Regions from separate parts of the Homo sapiens genome. Here regions 1, 3 and 4 are each linked to region 2. Evidence: promoter capture Hi-C in human tissues and cell types (Jung and others, 2019). All regions are on one chromosome and are shown on one strand. Each heading gives the region's core, a stretch centred on a gene start or on the middle of the fragment in contact. The rest is flanking DNA. Distances are from core to core; before and after follow the strand shown. Region 1 overlaps AGMO (alkylglycerol monooxygenase). Region 2 holds the start of MEOX2 (mesenchyme homeobox 2). Region 3 has its middle 170 kb from the start of CRPPA-AS1. Region 4 has its middle 240 kb from the start of CRPPA-AS1.

What was found. The method cuts DNA at HindIII sites, captures the fragments that hold promoters and counts their contacts. A contact is called where the count stands out against the background at its distance.
Region 1: a fragment that was not itself captured here is called in contact with the fragment with the promoter of MEOX2 in region 2 in 2 of the 25 tissues and cell types used here (lymphoblastoid cells and spleen).
Region 3: a fragment that was not itself captured here is called in contact with the fragment with the promoter of MEOX2 in region 2 in 2 of the 25 tissues and cell types used here (dorsolateral prefrontal cortex and heart left ventricle).
Region 4: a contact is called between a fragment that was not itself captured here and the fragment with the promoter of MEOX2 in region 2, in 1 of the 25 tissues and cell types used here (dorsolateral prefrontal cortex).

What each region holds. Positions count from the first base shown.
Region 1 is chr7:15,358,757-15,361,952 of GRCh38, reverse strand. The region is part of intron 12 of AGMO (alkylglycerol monooxygenase); the gene reads left to right. Among named protein-coding and RNA genes, the nearest start is that of AGMO, 200 kb to the left of the region's middle. The HindIII fragment of the contact is 5,316 bases long and covers 1-3,196 here.
Region 2 is chr7:15,684,602-15,687,991 of GRCh38, reverse strand. MEOX2 (mesenchyme homeobox 2) reads left to right here and starts at 1,309. Exons shown (of 3, transcript NM_005924.5): 1 at 1,309-2,106. The coding sequence starts at 1,590. RefSeq lists an enhancer at 2,113-2,945. The HindIII fragment of the contact is 7,827 bases long and covers 1-2,803 here.
Region 3 is chr7:16,036,124-16,039,397 of GRCh38, reverse strand. No RefSeq gene overlaps it. Among named protein-coding and RNA genes, the nearest start is that of CRPPA-AS1, 170 kb to the left of the region's middle. The HindIII fragment of the contact is 5,327 bases long and covers 1-3,274 here.
Region 4 is chr7:15,966,483-15,970,061 of GRCh38, reverse strand. No RefSeq gene overlaps it. Among named protein-coding and RNA genes, the nearest start is that of CRPPA-AS1, 240 kb to the left of the region's middle. The HindIII fragment of the contact is 6,900 bases long and covers 1-3,579 here.

The DNA of each region.
Region 1 (3,196 bases), core at 661-3,160, 330 kb after region 2:
AAATCAATGTTGTATATATTGGTAGCATCAGCTTGCAACCCTGTGACTCTTCTCTATCTAGAAGGCTAGCTGGAGGTTTTCTGTTGTATTATTTTATTATATAAGTCAAACTTAGTAAGTCTGCATGGTAATAGTCTTCCTACATTATTTGGGAGGTGTGTGCCTATCAAATTTATAGTTATCCTCTTTCTGGCAAAGTTATTTATCTGTTTTGCATAAACTGTTCGATGCGGAGAAAATAGATTGTAAGAAGATATAACCACACTTCATTAGTGGTTATGTTGATGTGCTGTTACCTAAATGGTTTTATTCTTTCTCTCTCTCTTTCTTTTTTTTAATTTGGTGATGAATGTATTCTTTAATGAGCATAGATGTCCTTTAATCTAAATCTCAAAACCTTTTTTTTTTTTTTTGAGACACAGTCTCGCTCTGTTGCCCAGGCTGGAGCACAGTGGCGCGATCTCGGCTCACTGCAAGCTCCGCCTCCCAGGTTCACGCCATTCTCCCACCTCAGCTTCCTGAGTAGCTGGGACTACAGGTGCCCGCCACCACGCCCGGCTAATTTTTTTGTATTTTTAGTAGAGATGGGGTTTCACCATGTTAGCCAGGATGGTCTCAATCTCCTGACCTGGTGATCCGCCTGCCTTGGCCTCCCAAAGATCTTTTTTTTTTTTTCAACTAAGTTCACATGTTCAGAGTTTTGTGATAGGTACTGAGAGGAAATATTTGAGAGATATGGCTGCATGACCCTAGAGTTGTCACAGTTTCAGTCAAAGACACCATTGTGCTGATGACAGTGACAGTGAGCAGCCCACTGTGGAGAGACGCTGCTTCTAAGCTGTGTTAGCAGTGTCCTATGGCTCCTATTCATATAAGGCATCACTTAGTAACAAATGATTTCCAGAAACCAGGATTCTTTAAAAATGCCAATATTCTAGCTATAGCTGGCTGGCATCACTAAGGTGAAGAAGGCATGGGAATTATTTTGCCTGCTTATTTCTGCTTTATTTATAATTTATCTGGTTTTTTCTTCTTATTTTCATGAGGATCATAACCTGATTTTATCTGCATGTGTTCTCAGGTGTGGGCATGAGGGCATGCGTACGTACTCTTTATTAATCTCAGAACTGCCTGCCTTAAGAATTGACCATATCCTGGCAGTTATTATAGCTTTTGGATCCAATTGACCCTTAAACAACAAGGGTTTGAATGCACAGGTCCATGTATATGTGGATTTTTTTTTCAATAAATATTACACTAAGTGTGCCTGTCTCTCCGGCCTCCCCTTACACCTCATCCACCTCCTCCACCTCCTCCAACCTCTGCCACTCCTGAGATAGCAAGGCCAAACCCACCTCTTCCTCCTCCTCCTCAGACTACTTAACATGAAGATGATGAGAAAAAGAGACCTTTATGATGACCTACTTCTTCCTTATTATTTTCTTAACATTTTCTTTTCTTTAGCTTTATTGTGAGAATACAGTGTATCATACATTCAGCATACAGAATATGTGTTAATCGTCTGTTCATGTTACCACTAAGGTTTCTGGTCAACAGTAGGTGATTAATAGCTACATTTTCCGGGGAGGTGAAAGTTATAGGCAAATTTTTGACCGCACGGGGGGTTGGCCCCACTAACCTCCGAGTTGTTCAAGGGTCGAGTGTACTTATTGCTAACGATGTAATACTTCCTTTGAAGCTTGTAGTTATTTTAATTTTGTTATCAGTCATTCCAACCAGATTTTTGAGTACCTCTGTCTGCTTTCATTTCTCTTCTGCATAATGAGAATAATAAAAGTAGTACCTACCTTGGTGGGTGGACATGTGGATTAAATAAGATTATACATACAAAAAGTACTTATAATAATGTCTGTAAATGTGCGTGCAGTATGTTGTGCCTACTCCGCCAAAAGCTTCAGTACAACTAACATTACCACTCCTATAATTACTACTGAGAATATAATAAAAGCACAGGCTGTAGGGCACATGTGATGATTCTTAGTAAGGAACACATAAGTTCTCCTTTTCCCAGTTAGTTTCTCTGAGTATTAAAAATGTCTTTGGAACATGAATTTATAGTATTTTTCTATAATTCAAATACACTATCATATGGAAAGGTTTCAGGATTTTTTGTATTTTATGATTTCATATATCACAAATTAGTCATGATTGCAGTGACCATGTAACATACAATAAAACATTTTATTTAGAACTTGTTTGGCAAATGTGGATTACTCAACCCAGCTTAGTGAGAAATGAACCAGGGGTAGGAGTTTAGTTGTTGACGTATTTTAGGATAAATAAAATGATGGCTCTAAGACACAGCAGATAACTTTGCTTCTAACTGAGTTGTATGAAAGATTACCTTTGTTCATTGGACTCATATTTAAGAACTGCTTGCAAAAAACTTTACTTCTACAAAAAAACATACATGATATATATGTAGGCCACTTTGACTCTTCTCAATGTTTATATTTAAGGTATTTCATTTTAAAAAATGTAAATATATTTCTTTTAAATGAAATGTTTTCACTACAGTAATAGAAAACCACACATTAGAAACACCCAAAGCATAAATTTAAAATGTCATCAATTTATGAGCAAAAATTAAAGTAAATATGAGTAAAAATAATAAATCTAATTTCTTTTTTTTTTTTTTTTGTTGAGACGGAGTCTTGCTCTGTTGCTGAGGCTGCAGTGCAGTGGCGTGATCTCGGCTCACTGCAAGCTCCACCTCCTGGGTTCATGCATTTCTCCTGCCTCAGCCTCCCGAGTAGCTGGGACTACAGGTTCCTGCCACCATGCCCAGCTAATTTTGTGTATTTTTAGTGGAGACGGGGTTTCACCATGTTAGCCAGGATGGTCTCAATCTCCTGACCTCATGATCCGCCTGTCTTGGCCTCCCAAAGTGCTGGGATTAAATCTAATTAATTTATAAAACTCCATATCTGAAAATAAAATCCTTATAAAAATGGCATTGAATAGGATCATCCAGTAATATGGGGATATTTATCTTAATGCCATTGTTAAAATCGCTTCTATCATTTCCATCCCAACCCCTGCTTTATTTTAAAAATGTTACATTTAGGTCATCATCCCCAATACTTCAAGGAATAAAGGCAAAGCAAGCAAAATTAAGACAGGTAGAACAGACCTAAAACTCAGAGAGGCGCTTCCTTGTCCTTCTCTTGCTGGC
Region 2 (3,390 bases), core at 60-2,559:
ACAATGAAAAAACGGGGCGACACTGCTGGTGGCGCATTTGGGGCCCCGGGCAGAATAGGTGACTACAGATATTCTCCTGATGCGACAGGTCGCAGATGGGACATGACTGTTCCTCCTGCTCATTACAGCGCCACTCACTTGTGTGTAAACGACTCTGCCCCCAGCGGACCCTGTCGCCCGCCAAGCAAGTAGCAGCTTCAAAGCCCTGCCCTCGCTCTCGCATGCTTACTAGAGGCGAGTTTTCTATTTTATTTTCAGGGGTGCAAAATTGTAACCAAGTGCCCACGGTGAGTGAATTTTGGGAGCTATCGAAATGTAAGAATTCTCAGTAAATGGAACCCTGGTGGTAAGGAATGCATTAGCGGATTTATTTTTGAGCAGAAGAGAGTGGATTTCTGGAGGAAACCGAGGAGATCTGGGCTAGCTCCTGAGGGGAAAGGCTAGAAATGCGCGTGCAATCTACACATCTCATATGACCGGGACACAATCGCTTGGAAATATTCTTGACCCAGGAAAAGTTCTTCTTGGTGGACAAGTGGCTAGGAAATTGAGCGGGACCGGGAAAGAGGGGGAAGGGAGCCTCCACCTGGCATCGCACGTGAGGATGCCAGGGAGCAGGCATCTGCAACCCTTTCAGACTCACGCCTTCCTCCCACCCACCCAACCAGGTCCGTCTTCTTTCTGCACTGAGAACCGCCTTTTCCAGGCCATGGTGCTCATCCCCGCAACCTCAGATCTGGCGTCCCAGCCTATTAACAACCCACCGACAGAAACCAGCTGCGAAAACCTAGGCGCGCTGCGGCGCCCGGGGCACGGGAAGATGCAAAGTTTGAAAAACTTCGAGGGTGCGCCAAACTAGCTCTGGTCTTTTCCTTTAACCCTATTACTTCTTTCGTGTTCCTGAAAGGATAGGCGTATCCCTAGCTTTTCTGCAGGTGACAGTTCCCAAATGACACTGACAAGTCACGTTTCCCCGAGAGGAAAGTGAGTAGGTAGGAATCAGGGTGCTAGGTTGGGGGTGGTGTGCGCCGCGCCCAGGCCTCCAGAGTCTGGAGGGCAGAGCTGCTGCCCTCCCGGGCGGGACTTAGACGTTGGCGTGCCGCTTGTAGTCCTGGCAGCCGGCAGTGCTGGGCGGGCGTGGACGCTCTACGTCCGTCCAGCAGGAGATAGGAAGTGGAACTGGGAGCGCGTGGCGCAGGCTGAGCGGGAGTTTTGGAGGGAGTTTGCATGTGGTCAACTCTGGGCTCCTAAGCCAGCCCCCAGCTCACGTTACACTCTATTTATAACTTCTCAGAGCCATTTCCCCCTGAAAGCAGTTCTCTGGGACCACCTTCTTTTGGCTTCAACCTCTCCCACTCTTGACATCTGAGTAGCTCAGGGAAGCTCTTCCAGGTCCGACTGTTCATATGTAAAGGAGACTGGCCGCTGGGGCTCAGGACCGGGATTATCCGAGCTCTGCAGAAGTGCACCGCTATTGCTTTGGGAGGTTAAAAAAAAAATCACACGGTTTCCAGTGAAAAAGTGACAGAGGGTGGTGGCCTTTGGAACCGCCGTGAAGTCTTCTGCCTGGAACCCGAAACTTGCATGCTATGGAACACCCGCTCTTTGGCTGCCTGCGCAGCCCTCACGCCACGGCGCAAGGCTTGCACCCGTTCTCCCAATCCTCTCTCGCCCTCCATGGAAGATCTGACCATATGTCTTACCCCGAGCTCTCTACTTCTTCCTCATCTTGCATAATCGCGGGATACCCCAACGAAGAGGGCATGTTTGCCAGCCAGCATCACAGGGGGCACCACCACCACCACCACCACCACCACCATCACCACCATCAGCAGCAGCAGCACCAGGCTCTGCAAACCAACTGGCACCTCCCGCAGATGTCTTCCCCACCGAGTGCGGCTCGGCACAGCCTCTGCCTCCAGCCCGACTCTGGAGGGCCCCCAGAGTTGGGGAGCAGCCCGCCCGTCCTGTGCTCCAACTCTTCCAGCTTGGGCTCCAGCACCCCGACTGGGGCCGCGTGCGCGCCGGGGGACTACGGCCGCCAGGCACTGTCACCTGCGGAGGCGGAGAAGCGAAGCGGCGGCAAGAGGAAAAGCGACAGCTCAGGTAAGGGCGCGCCAGGCACCCTCGAGAGTGCGCGCCGGGCTGGAAAAGGGGCGGAGAGATACTAGGGGAGATTCTCGCACTGGAGGGTGGCAGCAGGGAAGATGGGAATGTGTTGCCCTCTGTGGCTTCCTGCGGCCAAATTCGGCGGTGAAGCTTTGGTCCTGATATTTGGGGACACGTGTTTATTCGAGAGCAATGCGTATACAGCCAGCAGCTCTAAGCCCTCCAAAGTCCTAAACTAGTTTACCAGAAGGTTGATAAAAAAGGACAAGTGGCTGTGAAATCGATTGTGAAGCGTGACCTTCCATCCCAGCGCTGGGGAGGGAGGGGCGTGCGCCCAGGGATGCAGCGTCCGTTGGGCAGGCGTGCGTGCGGGTGCCGCTTCTTGACTTTTCTCTTGCAAGTTGCCGACTCTGAGTGGCTCGATTTTTCCCATCGTTAACTGGATTTCCAAATTATTGCACAATGTTTGGAACTTGCAATGGAACTTGGCAGAGCGCATGAGAAAAAAAAGTTTCAGTTTTTTTTTTTTAACATTCTTATTTCAGCGTTCTTTAAATAGCACCCTATTTCAAATGGTAAAATTTTCCCTTTATTGGGGAAGAAGACATTATCTAGGAATTCAGATTTTAAGGAATGTGTCAGAGAATTGTAAATAAATAGATGCTCACACTGGAAGAAAGACGAACCTTAATAGTACATGTCCATGTGGTGTAAGCTAATTACAGAACCTAAGTTTCAAAAGTGGAAAATAAATCCCTCTACCAAGTGGGTATTAGTAGAGACAAATACTGCGAAGCAACAGCAACTCGGGTACTGTTAGTTAGATACGTGTCTAAAGGGGTATGCAAGGGTGCGCGCAGGAGGCGCTGATTTCAGTGGGGATAATTTGAGCAGCCATGCAAAAGGGGAACCTTCCTGACCTCTGGTGCTTGAAGGCACAACGTGCCGAATAAATTGTAGCAATCCAGAGAAACTCAAAGTTTCCAGACAAGTTTTCAAAGCTCTTACCTACCTGTATTTTTATAAAATTGTTAAAAGATACTTTAAAATTAAGAGACTTGTGAGTTTTCTTTCGTGGGTATAGTGCAACCTGGATTAAATACTTTTGGAAGGTGTCATTTGTTTAATATAATATTTGCATATTTTTCTTCCTCTGTGGAATTGGGTTAATAATAGTCCTAGAAGGTAATCCCATATGTTGGTTTGAAGGATTGGAAAAATGTTGATCGTGTGTAAAGCTTTAGGTAAGATGCCACATAAATGAAAATGATTGGCCGCATA
Region 3 (3,274 bases), core at 412-2,911, 350 kb before region 2:
GAAATCTTATTGATGAACATAATATAACATCTGAACTATGGAAAAACATACTGTGATCTTGGATAAGAAGAATTAATACAGTAAAAATGCCAATTCTTAAACAAATTGTTCTATAAATTCAAGACACTTCCGAATAGAACTTCATCAAGTGTTGATTTTAGAATTGGATACAATGATATTAAAGTTCACTTGGAAAAATATATGTCCGAGAACAGCCAAGAAAAGTTTGATATAGGAGAATGAGAAGCTGGGAAACTTGCTTTACACATTATTTGTCAGACTATAAAGTCAACCATAATCAAATCAATATGGTTTTTAGCCATATGGATCCATGAAAAAACAAACAATCTGGAAAATAGATGTCTGTATATAAAAACTTTATATATGGCAACATTCATACTTCTATTCAGTGGGAAAAGAATGACTTACTTAATACTCAAGGCTGACAATTAGCTATTTATCTCGAGAGAAACAAAGCTGGACCCACTCTCACTATGTCTGTGCTGTCCAATATAGTAGCCACTAGCAAGCAGCACTATTTACATTTAAATGTAAGTTGATTAAAATTGAATAAAAATTAAAAATTCTGCTCCTCAGTGACATTAACCATCTTTTAAAGTGCTCAAAACTACATGTGGCTAGTGTCTAATTTATCAGGCAATGCAGATTATAAAACTTTTCCATCATTGCAAAATGTTCAATTGGACAGAAGCCTCTCTCTTTGTCTCATTCCCCCTCTATATAGTATTTAGCTATATTTATGTATAATTTACATACGTATATGTCAATTAAACATAAATGTATATACATAAATATAAAATATATTTTTATTATATAATATATCTTATATACAATAGTTCTCAATTGATAAAAAATTTAAATATAAAACAATGAAATCATCAAAGCGACATAAACAATATAGGGGTGGAGGGAAACCTCTTAACTAGATATCCACAAAAAATAGAGATTTGTTTGACATAAAAAAGTTAAAGTGATATACAAGGCAGGCATGGTGGCTCAAACCTGTAATCCCAACACTTTGGGAGGCCAAGGCAGGAGGATTGCTTGAGCTCTGGAGTTTGAGACCAGCTTGGAAAACATAGTGAGATCCCCATCTCTAAAAAGAAAATAATTATAATAAAAGCTTCAAATTAAAACATAAAAATGATATACAAAAAGTATGTGTATCAAAACATCACTTTGTACACCTTAAATACACAATTCTTATGTATCAATTATACCTCAATAAAGCTGGAAAAATATAGATGTTGATATCCTAGAATACGTTATAAAGGGAATAAGCTGTATGATGAGTCAGGAAATAATTCAGCTAATTTAGAACGGGTGGTTTGGGATTGCCCCTCTCAAGAGGGTATTTGAGCTGAGACCTGAAGGATAACAACAACCTTTATTGTGGAGAGCTGGGCAAAAAACACTCTAAGCTGAGTCCATAGACCTAATAGCTCTTTTGAATGACAGAGAAGCCAGGGTGCCCTCTGTGTTCAGGGGCAAAAGAATGGGTTGTATAAATTAAGATCAGAGTAAAATTGGTTTGTGGACCGCTTCTGGTCATGAAAGTTAAAAACCTTTACGTTAACTTTTCACATTGCTGAGACTCCAGCACTTGATCACTGGACTCATTTCAGGACATAGAAAAGTTCAGGTGTTTCAAACTTGCATGGTATATCTCATTGCTAACTGCTTTTAACCATGTGCAAATAGGTCCACAGTGGAATAGAAAAACAAAAGTAAAACAAACTCATCTCTTTACAGATAGGTAGAGAAACACTGTTGTAAGTCCTGGAGAGATATTTGGTTGCTATTCATAGAGCAAAGAAACTCACCAAAATGTTTTATAAAGAAGTGAATTTTTACGTATGTTTTCCAAAAGAACTCTAGTTTAAAGCCAGAGTTACCCTAGATTATATTGTGCAGAATGGATTACAAAGGTACAGGAGTTAAATTAAGAAGGTATTAGGAGGCTGTTGTTGTGGTCCAGGGAGGAGCTGATGGTGGCTTGGACAGGGTGGCTTGGACAGGGGTGAGGAAAAGGGAAGAGTAACAAGGAGCCATAAAAGATTTCTAGTTTTCTTTGCTTTAGTTTATTTTGCCATAATTACTGATGACATCTGTGGAGATAGAACATAAGGAGAAAAGAGTTTGAAGGCAAAAATCAAGTTCTGTCTTGAAAAAATTTAAGTCTGAAATGAATATTACCAATCCAAGCAGATCTAAAACTCATCAGAGATGTCTGGATTGGGAACATAATCTTGGGAGTTATCAGCATGTAGATCTAGGGTGATCAGACTTCCTGGTTTGCTCAGGACACTCCTGCTTTAGCACTGAAAGTCCCAAGTCCCGGGAAACTTCTCAGTCCTTGGCAAACCAGGACAGTTGGGTACCCTAAAGAAATGTTATGTATGAGAGCAACCAAGAAGATCACACAGAAGGACTGAGTCAGGCAACTATTCAGAAGAAAGAGAAACCTAGAAATTATAGCCAGTGACGTAGGAGGAAGATGAGATAGGAAAGTGTCAGATTTTTCAGAAACCAAAGGGAAAGAGTGTTTCAAGAAAGAGAGAATGCCAACCATAGGATGCCAGGGAATGTCAAGGAAGAGGAGAATCAAAAAGTAGATTTGACAAGATGGTGGTCACAAATTACCTAAAGAAGAGAAGATTTTGAGGAGTGATGAGGAAAGAAGCCACAGTGTAGTATGTTGAAGAGTAAAGAGTAGGAAAAAAGATCAGTGAGTGTGAAAAAAATCATCCCAGTATCTTTGCATTGAAGGGGAGCGGAGTGATGTGCAGTAGTTTGAAGAGAAGAGAAAATACAAAAGGGTTTTATTTTTATTTTTTATTTTTATTCTGTTGCAGGACTTTTCCTTAGTTCAGCTAAAGGCAGGGTTCATTGTCCCACGGCCACAAAAATTCAGGCTCGCAGACAATTTGGTGAATAAGGCGGGTTTGTTTGTTTGTTTGTTTCTGAGTCTCACTCTGTCTCCAGGCTGGAGTGCAGTGGCATAATCTCCGCTCACTGCAGCAACCTCTGCCTCCCAGGTTCAAGCGATTCTCCTGCCTCAGCCTCCCGACTGAGGGGCTGCAGTCGTGCGCCACCATGCCCAGCTAATTTTTTTTATTTTTAGTAAAGATGGGATTTCACGGTGTTAGCCAGGATGGTCTCGTCTCTTGACCTCGTGATCAGCCCGCCTCGGACTCCCAAAGTGCTGGGATTACAGGCGTGAGCCACCGTGCCTGCCCAAGGCAGGGTTTTA
Region 4 (3,579 bases), core at 632-3,131, 280 kb before region 2:
ACCATCTTACTTAAACTTTTACCAGATTTTGATACAGTTGATCACTCCCTCCTCTCTAGAAGTTGCCTTATGTGGCTTCCAGGATACTACACTCTCCAATTTTTTTCTATTTCACTGGCTGCTCCTTCTTGGTCTCCTTTGAGGATTTCTCTTAATCTCTCAGAACACAAATTGTCAAAGTACCACAAGGCTCAGTCCTTAGACTCTGCTCTTTTCTCCCTATACTCACTATTTTGACAACCTCATCTTTTTCATAATTTTAAAAATCATTTGATTTTTAAATGGCTTATGCCTCTCTTCTCAACTTCAGCTCTCTTTTCTTAGATATTCAATAAGCATCTGCAATTTAGCAAGTCCAAAGTTACACTCCATCTTTCTCTTCAAACCTGCTTCTCAATGAGTCTTCCCCATTTCCATAAATGGCAACTCCACATTTTCATTTTCTCAGACCTAAATCCTGGGATTCATATGTGACCTTTCTCCTTCTTTCATAACCTGTATCCAGTCTGTCACCAAGTGCTGCTCACTGTACCTTTAAAATACATCTATAATCCAACCAGTCTGTACTCTCTTCATGGCTCTTAGTTCATTCCAGATCATTATCAATTTTGGTCTAAGGAATTGCAATAACCTCCTAACTCGTATCCTTGTTTCTGCCTTTGTTATCCCAACAGTTTATCATCGATATAAGAGATTTATAAAGCATAAATTCATACATGTCACTCTTTTACACAAACTCTCCAATGTCTTCTCATCTTAAACAGAGTAGGAATGAGTTTACAGTGTTCTACATAATATGGTCTGTTCAGGGCTCTGTGATCATCATCTACTTGTTAATCTATTTCGGCCACATTCACCACCTTGCTCTTCCTCGCATGCTTCACTCATAATCTATCTTCAAAACTGTTGTACTTGTTTCCTTTACAGAACAATTCTCTATCACAAGTCCATCTAACTGTATTTCTGTCTTTCTTTATAGATGCATTTAACTATCCTTCTCTGTGAAACATTTCTTGGTCACAATATTTGATATTCCATTCTGTTTGTTTATATATTCATTTCTTAATTTTTTTCCATGACATCTATTCATATATCTAGCTTATTATACACTTTACTTGTTTATTTTACCTATTATCTACCTCTATTGGGTAGAATTTTTGCTCCATTCTGTTTTATGAACTACTGTACTTCCTAGAATAATTCCTGGAACATAGTTGGCATTCAGTAAATATTTGCTGAATGGATAACTGAATGAATTGATGAGTAAGTATAGCAATGCTTCTGATTACCTAATGGCAAAAGCCAGTATTGAGATTCTGGGGGAAAAATGACTGCAACAGACAAAAAAGAAGAAAAATTCTCTTTGAGTGTTTAAAAAGATGACACTGAAATAGAAGGGTGTACCTGGTAATTGTGTTAGTATATTAAAGAGCTAAAACATATGTACAAATTATGTAAGATTCTTTCCTATATTTACAGCTATATAGCTTACATGATAAATTATGAAGAACATTTGTTCTTCATAAGAGTTTGACAGACTATTAAGGTGAAGTTCATTAAACATCAATTTTACAGGACAGAAGATTTGTAAGGCTCTTCTGGCAATAACAGAAATAAAATAAGATGACTTGGAACATCGTATATAGAGATTTTCATTAACTTGTTGGTGTTATTCCTTTAAGTATTACAATTAACTAACTTCACATTTAGAGCCAAAATGAAGTACCATATGAGGTGGGAGATTTGTGCCCTATGATACAGATTTTGCGCTTGGATTTTATGTAGACTCCAAGATAATTTAGTTAGTCCTTAAAAGTTATTTTACTATAATCGGCTATTAGCACTTTATATACTTGCAGAGTTTTGTACCACATTATTAATCAGTCTATGCTCCCTCTCCTGCCAGTAAGTCTTGAGTTCCTTTAGAAGGTTGAATCTTCTTTCTTTCAGGGAGTGAAAAGGAACCAGAGACAGACTGAAGAATTCCAAAAGCTGTCCAAAAAAAGAAAATTTTCATAGTGAATTAGCAGAAGGAGGAGAAGGGAAGTGGAAAAGAGCGGCCGCATGAGTTCATGGGCCTGGCTTTTTATCATGCCTACTCTTGGGGCCACATCAGTGGCCTTGCTTTCATGCCAGAAGCAGTGCAAATCATAATTAGAATATAGAATATTGCAAAGAAAGGGGAAAAGGCCCCATCTGTGCAGCCACTTTAACTACAAGCCCAGAATCTGTTTTACAGCTGAGGCACAAAGACGGTATTAATACATGTGGTTAGTTCCTTCTCTATATATACTGTAGATTCATTGTGTCTGCTTTTCCTAGGTGGAGCAAACACAGACATACAATATTTTGTTCTCTTTTTGTTGTTACACTTCCTTTCTTGCCAGATGCGGCAAACCCCTTCCTAAGCCATTCTGTCTGTACTGCTCTGCACGTTGACACCCATCAGCTTGCAAGTGAGCAGGGCTGTCAGCACTGGATATTTTCTCCTCCATTGTCACTGGTCTAATGACATCCTCTGGTTTATGCACTTTTCTCTCCAACACCACCATAAGCTAGAATAACTCACTCAGTCTGGGTGTTAGGCACTTCTCCTATAATTCATGCCAAGTAAAGGAAATCCGTAGACTTAAGGACAAATAGTGTAGCATATGTACAAAGTACTGGGCAGTCTCCATGTGTAAACTTTCTATTAAATGTAATGAAACAAAGCATCTCAATGTGCATGGTTTTTTTTTTTTTTTTGCAGATAAGTAATTAGAGATGAGAGATCTTCAAACAATAGGGCCATTATTCCCAAAATCACCATGGGAATGAGTGAAAGTTTCATATATTTAGGTTGATTTCAGAGTCTAGAGTGCTATGGGAGCTTAACAAATGATTGTTAATTATTATTTAAGCACCAGTTTTGACCGAATCATAATGCTAATGGATCTCTTTGGGAATATTCTTTAGATAGCCATCATTTATCTAGACTTGATATCAGGCTTTGATTAAATGTGTTTATTCCAGTATCAGCAAGAAAATGTCTTACACATTTTTATACTTACAGAAGACAATAGGGCTCAGCACATAGCAGGGGGTTCAAAAATATGTTTTAAACAGTTGAACTAAATTTGTGGGATTTTTACAACTCTTTGGGTTTTATTTTGGCAGCTAAAGCCAACTGAGAGCTGTGTTCTTGCTGCTCTAAGAATGATTGCATAAGAACAATGTTTTAGGATTTTTTTTTTAGGACTTTCGAAGTACTGCTATCTGTCTTTAGCAGTACTTGCTCTTTTTGGGAATTTTTCTTTGTTTGGATGGGTCAAGTCAATAGATACAGTGAGGAACAACCTTCAGGACATAGTGTTATGGATGAAATGTTTTCAGCGTGTTCAGTTTTTTTTTTTTTTTGGCAGTCAAGTTTATATATATATAAAGTTCTGGGATACATGTGCAGAACTTGAAGGTTTGTTACATAGGTATACATGTGCCATGGTGGTTTGCTGCACCCATCAACCCGTCATCCACATTAGGTATTTCTCCTAATGCTATCCCTCCCCTAGACCCCCTACCCCCTGACAGGCCCTGGTATGT